Linked DNA regions of Homo sapiens: regions 1 and 3 are each linked to region 2. The links are contacts of gene promoters, found by promoter capture Hi-C in blood cells and fetal thymus (Javierre and others, 2016). All regions are on one chromosome and are shown on one strand. Each heading gives the region's core, a stretch centred on a gene start or on the middle of the fragment in contact. The rest is flanking DNA. Distances are from core to core; before and after follow the strand shown.

Region 1 (3,663 bases), core at 736-3,235, 310 kb before region 2:
AAAATTCAAAATTAAAATAAAGGTTGAAACCTCAGAATATATACCTGTAGCCTTTGAATATGGGTGTGAATGCAGACCTCTTACGGAATTCTTAATGCAGTGCAGCAGTTCACTGATGGAGCTGTTACATGACTGGTATCATTCAAACACAGATTTTCATTTAATATTTGTTAATTGTTATAAGAGCAAAAATATCTAGCCATTTTACAGCTGCTGGGTTTTTTTTTTTTTTTTTTTTTTTTTTTTTTTTTTTTGAGACGGAGTCTTGCTCTTGCTGCCCAGGCTGGAGTGCAATGGCGCGATCTCGGCCCACTGCGAACCTCCGCCTCCCAGGTTCAAGCGATTCTCCTGCCTTAGCCTCCTGAGAAGCCGGGATTACAGGTGTGCATCACCACGCCCAGCTAATTTTGTATTTTTAGTAGAGATGGGGTTTCACCATGTTGGCCAGGCTGGTCTCGAACTCCTGACCTCAGGTGATCCGTCCATCTTGGCCTCCCAAAGTGTTAGGATTACAGGCGTGAGCCATCATGCCCAATCAACTGCTGTATATTTTTGCTACTCAATAGACACATTTAAATCTCTGATTTGTGACTTATTTCAGAAGAGAAGCTAACTTTGTAAAGTAAAACTGAGTATTTGTTAGCATTTTGAAGCATTTATAAGCATTTTCTTGGAAATAATCCATTGATTCGATTATTTAAAAATATAACTTGAGCAATATGAGACTTGGTCCTCTGTGTGTCTGTGTGTTGCATGTTATTAGTAGGTGATTTTGAGAAGATTTTATCCATAGCATACAACGCTTTACAAAATCTTTAAACAAATAGTACAAGTCAAACAATACAGTACGTATTAAGCTGTACTAAGAGAGCATTTGATATGCAGTTTACTTGGTAATAATACAATGAAATAAGTATTTGGAAGTTCATCACAGTTATCAGAAACATTTGTTTGGAATATGACTTTGCATATAATAATTTTATGTCTTAGTTCACCCATAAATTACCTTCCCCCTTTGACTATCACCACCTCTTAAATCAAAATGATATTTTGTGTGTTCACTTTTGTCAGGTAACAGTACTTGAGTATTTCCTGCTTCTTGGGCCTCTCCATGATGGATTGCTGTGAAGGAGAATCAACAATAGCAAACCAGGAAAAGGTTGACAGTGCAGTTAGCATTTATGTCTTATTTATACATGATTTGGGACCGTTTTGCCAAACATTGAATAATTTTCCTGTGGGAAACTTGAGCCCTAAAAGGAAATGAACATAGCTAAAAGGCTGCATATCACATGGGACTTAGATTTATTTTTAGAATGGCACTATAATGCCATATTTGGATTGAAACAATGTGATAGCAGTAAAATATTTCATTAAATAAAGAGCCATCTTTTCTGAGGAAGTCATCTGCTTTTCTATTTCAACGTGTGGTATAGATTGAACATAATACTTATATAATCATTCAGCTAATATAATTCTAAAGTATATGTTAAAGGAGCTTATTTGGCAAACATTTCTAGAGCCAGCTTATTGAGTCTGGTGTAGTAAAGGTTCTGTGACAGTTCAATGATTACAGCATATGGTGTTTTTTGTTGTTGTTGTTGTTGTTGTTTTGTGTGTTTGGAGTAAGTTGTTTGGAGGGGAAAAGAGTAAAGGGAGTAGAGTCATTTGGAATGTTTATATTATTTTTCTTGAAATGGATGAACTCCTTACTAAATTAGACAACGATAATAGAGAAACCTAGATGGATTTTTGCTTCTGAGAAATGATTTTGGAAGAAAAAAGATAATCAGCAAAGGTATTTAATATTGAGCTCTACAGTGTTTTCATTAGTATGGTTCATAGGCTAAAAAACAAAATACTCTTATTGTATCACTTATGTTTCAAGTATCAGTTTTTCTGCCACCTGATTTCTTTATAATTTCATTTGGTTTAAATGTGATGTTCATAACATTCAGGAGATTTCTGAACTGTATACTGTCTAATTGCAGATCCCCGACAGGGCACTAAGTCCCAAACAGGAAAACTTGCCAAATACAGATTTTGTCCCTTGGCTTCTCTCCCAAGGTGGGAAATATGCCAGCATCATAAATCTCAAGTCTGTTGAGAAAGAGCTACCGCTGATATACCAGGCCTTAAGCCACCAGCTTTCCATGCAGTATTTCATTTGCTTCTCATAAACTGTGAGGCAGGGACCATTGCATAGATTTTATAGATAGGTTTGTTAAGGTTCAGATTAGTTAAATGACTTGCCCAAGGTCACACAAATTAGTAAGTGGGAGAGGCAGTACCCAGAGACAGAACAGCCTGGCCCTAGACTTTGTGTTCTGTTGGTTGCATTGTGATCTAAGTAGAGCACCTAAAGTCCATCGTCTGCATTCTTTGTCAAAAGTCCAACTCCAGTCTCCACACAATTATGACCAGATTCTGAAATGCCTTTAGTTACCTCCATGTTCATGGGTATCTAATTCCAGTCTGCTCTGTGTGATGTGTTGGAGCTTTGGAGTAGAAATTTTAAAGCATTAATTACTGAATACCTAAACAATATGTCATGTATTTAAATGTATAGAGATCAGTTTACTATTTCTTTTTGGTCCAGGTTTTGAATTGTTATTGTTAATCAGTGGCAGTTTTACTGCAAGTATGGTTTTTGCCTTCAAGAGCAAATCACCAGGGTAAATACACAAAGCAATATCTACACACAAATCCAACTTCCACTAAAATCCCTGCTGTTGCACTGGTGTGGAAGAACAGCATCACAGCACAGAGAGGTCCCATGGTTCCTAGTTGAAAATACTGACTTAAAGGGCAGTGTTGCTAGTCATGTAGGGACAAGTAAAAATGTGTTTGTTTTATATAATTACATTCTTCAGAGCTAAATTAAGATGAAGATGTTTTTGTATTGTCAGTGTTAAGTGAGCCCACCAATCGATACCTATTTCTATAATTCTTACTGATTTGACTATGTAATTGACTTTGAGAGGCTTTAATTTGTTTGATACAAATATACTATAATTCCTATTACTGATATACAGGCTATGAGGTCCTGTATTATGTAAGATTGAGCTGCAGATTTGATTCCGAGCCTCCTGAAGGCCGAAGCAAAAATGAACATTGGATCATTTCCATGGGGAAAAATATGTATAATTTTTTAGGAGAAACTGTTTTTTGATGGGGACACTGAGTAAAGTGGTAGATGTCCTCACCACCATGAAATACAAAGTTTCAATAGCAGGGTTTTTTTTGTTTGTTTGTTTTCTTTTTTTTGACAGGGTCTTAGAACATGCTAATACCACAACTTAGTGAAGGTAGTTATGTGAAAGGCCAGGATATTGTGATCTAAAAATATATCTATCTGGTGGTCAGCCTTGAAGAAAAAAACTCAGAACATTGAAAAGAATACTCAATTTTTTTTTTTTTTTTAGGATCTGAAATGGTTAAGATACATGCCCCCAGCATTCAGCGACTGTGCCTTTTCTTTGAGGAGCCACATGTTGTGATTTTATTCACCTTGGTTTTTTTTTTTTTTTTTTTTTTTTTTTTTTTTTTTTTTTTTTTTTTTTGAGACGGAGTTTCACTCTTACTGCCCAGGCTGGAGTGCAATGGCGCGATCTTGGCCCACTGCAACCTCCGCCTCCCAGGTTTAAGGGCTTCTCCTGCCTC
Region 2 (3,355 bases), core at 37-2,536:
GACCCTTGCCCATCCCTCTAGCTCATCTGGACCTCCCTCAATGGCTCCTGCTGTCTTTCCAGGCTGTGTCCTCCCGTGTCAGGGACACATCCCAGAGCCCAGGGCCTGCGTGGGCTGTATCCACGGTTACTGAATAGGGACAAACAGGCATGTATTGGCAGGGGCCGGTGGCTCATTTCAGGAAAGTCCCTTCAGCAAGAGGATTCTCTCCCCACTGGGGCTGAGGGTGGTAGAAGAAAGGAATGTTGTTCTATGTTGTAGTGTCTCTGAGATGACCTGGCTTCCTGAACCAGGTCCCCCTGAAGAGCTCCTCCTGTCCACCCCAACAAGAGGCCAGCTGGAGAGCAAGCAAACATCGAGTGCAGCAGGAGACTATAAGGTTAGACAACAAGAAGGACTTCCTGGCAGGGGAGAGCAATGCTTGCTTGGTTAGAGCTGCCTTTCAGTAGAATGGGCTGCTTTGGATTGCAGTGAGGTCGCTGGAGTTGCAAACAGCAGAGCCAGAGATCAAGGTCAAGTGGAAGAAAGCTGGGAAAGGTTCAGTTTGGCTGGTGAAGGGTGGAGAGGGTAAAGGGAGGCAGGGACCACCGTGGTGCAGGGGTGAGGTGCCCTGCAGGGAGCTGATCCTGAGGCCGATGGTGGGAGGAGCTGTGTGTGGTCGGGTGGGACGGGGTGGGGACAGCAGGAGACACTGAGAAGGTGGCATGGCCAGGAGCTAGGGGCTGACCGAGTGTGGGGAGGGGGGAGTGGGGAGGGGGCGTTGGGCTGCCCGATGGGAGGTGCCTTGGCTCCGATGGGAGCACTGGGGAGCAGCAGGTGGGGGGACGAGCTGGGTGGGAGGGGCTGCAGCTTCCCAGCAGAGACAGGGTCTGGGAGGCGACTGGACTCGAAGGCCTGGGCTTGGGAGAGAGGCCCGGGCTGGAGAGGTGGGGAGGGGGATCCAGGAGAGGGGATAACTAAGGACTTGGGAGTAGCTGGCATCACCTGGTGAGACGAGAGTCCTGAACAGCCCCCTCTCCAAGGACAGAAATTTCTCCAAGGAGGCTGACCTGAGAGGTGGGAGGAGAGTGGGGCAGAGGGTCAGGAGGGAGAAACCAGTGGGTGCCAAGACCAGGTCAGCCCCACAGGCTAGGGGGCTTGAGGACTTGGGGCTGATGTCTAGGGACGTCCACGAGGTGGAGCAGCCCAGGAGGCCTGGGTGGGAGGAGGAGGCGGTGGCGGGGAGGGGAGGGAGGGGCTGGGCCTCTGTCCACAGCATTAGTGCTGGTTGGAGGGACGAGGGGGGTGCGGAGCCAGCCAGGCCGCCCTCCCGTTCTCACAGCAGCCGAGCAGAGCGCAGAGCGGGCTGCCATGGCGCTGGCCAGGCCTGGGACCCCGGACCCCCAGGCCCTGGCCTCTGTCCTGCTACTGCTGCTCTGGGCCCCTGCCCTTTCCCTCCTGGCTGGTGAGTTGGGGCCCATGTCTGGAGGGGCCTGGGAGAGGGTCTGTCCCCCAAGACAGATACCCCAAGCCTTGGCTGCTGGGGTGGTGGGTGGGCTGGTCCGCGTGGGTGCAGGCCTGAGCTGTGGGGTGCACAGGAGTGCGCGGCTGTGGCCCCCAGACTCTGTGGGGCTCCACGGAGGTGAGTGTGTTCTGAGGCTCGGGGCTGTTTCATGTTGAGGGGGGTTGTAAGTTTCGGGGTTGGGGGATCGGGGGCTGGGCATGATTTGGGGGAGCTGATGCGGGTGAGGGATGGGGTGCGTGTTTTGGGAGGTGCTGTGTTGCATCCTGTAAAGGGCTGGGGGACTTCTGGGTTTCTAGGGGCTGAGTTTGGGGAGTTGCAGGTGGCATAAGCCTCACCCCAGAGCTTGTTCTGTGTCGCATGCTGGGTTGTGGGGCACAGGTTGTGGGTGTGTTAGAGTTGGGAGGTGGATGAGCTGTCTGGGGTGAGCCGTGAGTTGTGTCCGAGGAGTTGGGTGTGGTGAGCTGTGTCCTAGCACACGCTGTGGGGTGTAGGTTGTCCAGGGTTGAACTAGGTCTTTGCTCTCAACATGAGGGGTGTGGGATGTGCACAGCCGACCCCAACTCGGGACTGAGTGGAGAAGCGTGAGGGAGACTCAGGGAGCTGGGTGCCTGCCCGCACCCCTCCATTTGTGCGGTAGCCCTGCCTGTGCTGAGGGCTGCTGGGGATGCTCTGGGTCCCTGTGGGGTGGCTGGGGATTTGGGAACATGTGTGTGTCCCCTGCTGCCCCCTCCCCAGCATTCCAAGGCCAATCTGAAAGGGCTCCCTGAAGCCAGACCACATTTGCCAAGCCCTTTTTGCTTTTGTCCAAGCTCTCGGAGCCTGGAATTCCTCCTGGGGGGTCCAAGGGAACGCTTGGTGTTAGTTACTATAGTTACAGGGGCCGGGCCTGGGAAGTCCCCTGCCCCCACCACCACAGGCTGGGGAGGGAGCCAAGGAGGGCCTGGGCTCTCCTGAGGCTGGGGGAGCCCTCCCTGCCCCAGAGCTCCACAGGCTGTAGGGTGTGGGGGCCAAGTGTCTCCCAGTCCCACCTGGGGACCCTCATGTTTCCCGCACTCACAAAGCTTTCATTTCCTATCCTCTCTATGGGGCCCTAGGGAGGATGAGGACCCCATTTTGCAGTGAAGGAAACCAAGGCTCAGAGAGGGACGGGGACTTATGAGCTGGGCTCTGCTGGCAGGCGACTTGGGCTCCATAGAGGGGTGGGGCATGGTGGCGGGGGGCGGGGTGGCTGCTCCTCTCTGTTCTCTGCATACAAAGCACGTGAGATCCCGGTCTGTGGATCGGTGCTCTGTCCCCTGCCCTGTGATGCTCACACACCCACACTCCGCACACCTGTGTGGCATGCCCAAGGGCACACAGCACCACAGGGACAGGTGCTACAGACACATGTGGATCTACCAGCACATGCACCTACCTACACACATGGCATGTGCCTGCACACCAATGTGCACACCCCAACACGCACATGTGGACATGTGTGCATTCACACTCAGTGTGCACTCACAGGGGACCTGGAGGCACAGAGTGGATGGAGGCTGTGGGGGGTCTGGACACTGGTGTGTACACTCAACCCATCAGGCCTGCTGGGTTGCCCAGGGGCAGCCTTTCCTCTGCCATTTCTGTGCTGGGAGCGCCATCCCTGGGGATCCCTAAAAGTTGGTGGGGTACACTGCAGGCATGACCATTTCTGCATGCTGGTACCCTAGACTGCCTGCCGGGAGGGGAGGGATTGGGGATTTTGTCACTTGAAAACCAATTTCCATCCTGGAGGGGATGGGGGCTTCTGGAGGCCATGGGCCCCTGGCTTTTCTCCCCACCCCTGCCAGGCCCTGAGCTGGGCCTCTCCATCCT
Region 3 (3,306 bases), core at 589-3,088, 330 kb before region 2:
CCCTGCTTTGGATTTTTTATTAGGAATGTTACTGAATTTTATCAGCTTTTTCAGGACTATTACTGATTTTCTTTAATTTGTTAATGGAATAAGTTACATAATCTATCAACATGTGATAGACTTCTTATATTGAACTACTACCCTTGGCTTCATGGAATAAATTTTTATAGACCAAGCACCCCTGGTAGTCTTTGTCTTCTGGTGTTTGATTAAGAGCTCCTCAACCCTGGCCTCTAGGTAGAACTTGTCAGACTCAGAGGGAAGAAAGCTTAATAAGTAATCCACAGAGACTCTCATGGCTTCTCTTACCTCCAGTTGCCTGTAATTCTTACAGCTGTTTGGATCTTGTGAATCAAATAAGTTGGAGTTGAAAATGAAGGGGAAACAAAGGCACTTTCTTGTTCCCGGCTTCCAGAATCCTCTTCTGTCCCTTCTTTCTGATGGTTATTTTTTACCTTTTGTGTTGGTGGCTTAGCTTCTTATAATTCAGTGCTTAGTAGCAAAAATTTACAGCAAACTACTTCTTCAGTAGATCATTTTAATAACGAGAGAATAATGAAATAGCAACCTATTCTGATGTTTTTCTTTCCTTCCATCCACTTGGCCTTGCTTATCTTTTCTTAAACTTATCTGCATCATTTTCTCTAGTTTCAACTTCAGTGATAAGAATCTTTAGCAAGCTTTTATCCAGAAGCAAACTAGTAGCAAGCTCAAATAACCAATATTTACATTTCTTTCTTTCTTTTCTTTTTTTTTTTTTTTTTTTGAGACGGACTCTCGCTCTCTCGCTCTGTTGCCAGGCTGGAGTGCAGTGGCACGATCTTGGCTCACTGGAACTTCCGCCTCCCAGGTTCAGTGATTCTCCTGTCACAGCCTCCCGAGTAGCTGGGACTACAGGCATGTGCCACCATGCCCAGCTAATTTTTGTATTTTTAGTAGAGATGGGGTTTCACCATGTTGGCCAGGATGGCCTCGATCTCTTGACCTTGTGATCCCCCCAGCTTGGCCTTCCAAAGTGCTGGGATTACAGGCGTGAGCCACCGTGCCCTGCCAACCAATATTTACATTTCTAATTGTTGAAAGGAATCCCTGGAGGCCCAGCCACATTTTGCTAGTCTGGAAAAAATAATGTATTCAATTATTATGTTATTACTACGCAGATTGTTTTGCTTTTTAATTAACAACTTCTGTCTGGTAGGTTTGTATTATTGAATAATATTTAATCATAAGCATATGCCTGTGGATACCCAACAATAAAAGGAGATCGATTTAGCAAAAAAGAATGTTGGCCATGGAGGAGGAAGCCTGGGTACTAGTTTCAGTTCTGCCGCTTCATTTCCTCTTCTCTGAACTGAGGTAGCTGAGGTAGTCTGTTGATTTTTCCTTAAGCTTTGACATTCTGGAAAATCAGACAGTGTGTTTGAGTCCTGCCCTCCAAAATAGGCCATAATTCCATTTTTTCACAACTGAGCACTCTTGCTGCCTTGTCCTACATGAAAATAGTGGCTGGTGGATGTTAGAACTGTATTGTCTGCTGTCATACAGCAATTGCTACAGTAGGTCCCTCTAAATTATTACTTGTGAACATAATTTTAAGCCCTATATCTTATCCCTGTGAAGTTATTTTCCTTTGTGTGAGTTTATGTAAGTCATACTTGCTGGGAGTTCTAAAGGTTTCCTGAATTATAAGACTGGAAACATATTTGGTTTGTCCATGTTAAAATTGCTATTTGACAGTTTTTGACCCACAAATAGGCAATTTCATATGCCTCGACCTAATAATTATAGGTGAGTTAAACAGTTACCATGCTGGGGTTTTACTTGAAAGATCTTTCAACTTAGAAGCAGAATTGCCTTTTGTTTCATTGGACATTCATTGTTTATTCAATAAAAAATACCTTTTGAATGCCTACCCTGTGCCAACCCTGTGGTAGGCCTCATGGATATGCCCATAAATAAAATAAACTTGTTCACTGGTTTCAGGAAGTCTGCAGTCTAATGAAGGAAATAGACAGTTAACTATAAACAATCATAAAGTTGCATGGGAGTTGTAGAAGAAAAAATATATACTGCTGTACTGCATATGACATGAAGGATTTCTCACCTAAGTGTTCTAAAAGGTCTCTTGCTCAGAAATTAGCCAGGGGTTGGATAGTTGGGGTGGGATAGGGTGCTGCATAACAGATGTGGTCTTAAAAGTCAGAGAGAACAGCGTGTACTCAAGGCAGTTCCATAGAGTGTGAATGGAGGTAAGACCAGAGAGGTGGTAGATAGGGAACAGATCTTTGAAAGCTTCAGAAGGCATATTTAAGGTTTTGGGCAACAGAAGCGAATGAAGCATTTTAAGCAGGCAGGTTATATATTCCGGTTTATAAGGCAGTATGCAAAGTGGTTTCCATCTAAAGGCAAATTGTCTTAATTCAGATCCTAGTTCTGCTGTATTCTAGCCATTGAAATTGGGCAATTTAACATTCATACGCTTTGGTTTCCTTATCTGTAAAATGGAATAATAATAGTTGTAGAGTTGTTAGAATTAATGTGTGAAAATTCTTAGTATAATCCATAGTCCATACTAAGTGTAAATAACTTAATATTATATATATTTTTTGCTTATTATCTGTATTATCAGGCTTAGAAAGATCACTCTGTTACTTGGGCTAGCATGGAGTAAGAATAATTGCAGCGAGACCCGTTAATAATTCAGGCAAGAGATAATTTCAACTTGGATTGGGGTGTAGTGGCAAAGGGATGGGGAAAAAGATGCTATTTAAGAGGATTTCAGAGGTAGAGTCCTTGGCACTCACTTGATGACTGAATGAATGTGGGAGATGAGGGCGAGGGAGGAATAAAAGATGAGTCAAAGTATCTCAAATCATTTTTGGAATGACAGTTACATAAATAAACTCACATCAGCTGCACTAAAATAATATGTTAATTAATCAATGTTTAAAGCTCATTTTTTTTTTTTACTTAATAAAGTTTTATTTTTCCAAATGTAGAGTTGCTTGGACCTGTTCATGCATCTTCACCAGCAGCTGGAGCATCTCTGCCCTTGGTATTTCTGGTGTAAATTACTTGAGCTCTGTGCTTTGAAACCAGTTTGATAAGTCCTTTACTAAGGAGCTCCAGAAGGGCTGCCCTGGCCAGGGAACCTCAAATCTTCAGTCTCTTAGAGACCACAACTGGAGTTATAAGTTTATAGTTGGGAACTTCCTTACAGAGTTTGTCATATGTAGCTTTGTCAAACAAGACAAGGTATTGAGCTTGTCCCTAACTTTGCCTTTGGACCATTTCTTCTTTTTGGCC

What was found. Contacts are between HindIII fragments. The CHiCAGO score rates a contact against its expected background, and 5 or more counts as called.
Region 1: a fragment that was not itself captured here is called in contact with the fragment with the promoter of CRB2 in region 2 in 2 of 17 cell types (activated CD4 T cells and naive CD4 T cells); the score reaches 5.5 in activated CD4 T cells.
Region 3: a fragment that was not itself captured here is called in contact with the fragment with the promoter of CRB2 in region 2 in 1 of 17 cell types (naive B cells); the score reaches 5.7 in naive B cells.

Annotation. Positions count from the first base shown.
Region 1 is chr9:123,047,702-123,051,364 of GRCh38, forward strand. The region is part of intron 13 of RABGAP1 (RAB GTPase activating protein 1); the gene reads left to right. It also overlaps a transcript of GPR21 not described here. Among named protein-coding and RNA genes, the nearest start is that of GPR21, 16 kb to the left of the region's middle. The HindIII fragment of the contact is 3,989 bases long and covers 1-3,663 here.
Region 2 is chr9:123,354,911-123,358,265 of GRCh38, forward strand. CRB2 (crumbs cell polarity complex component 2) reads left to right here and starts at 1,287. Exons shown (of 13, transcript NM_173689.7): 1 at 1,287-1,444. The coding sequence starts at 1,351. RefSeq lists an enhancer at 2,968-3,355. The HindIII fragment of the contact is 7,167 bases long and covers 1-2,563 here.
Region 3 is chr9:123,026,362-123,029,667 of GRCh38, forward strand. The region is part of intron 13 of RABGAP1 (RAB GTPase activating protein 1); the gene reads left to right. It also overlaps the pseudogene RPS25P8. Among named protein-coding and RNA genes, the nearest start is that of GPR21, 5.7 kb to the right of the region's middle. The HindIII fragment of the contact is 903 bases long and covers 1,388-2,290 here.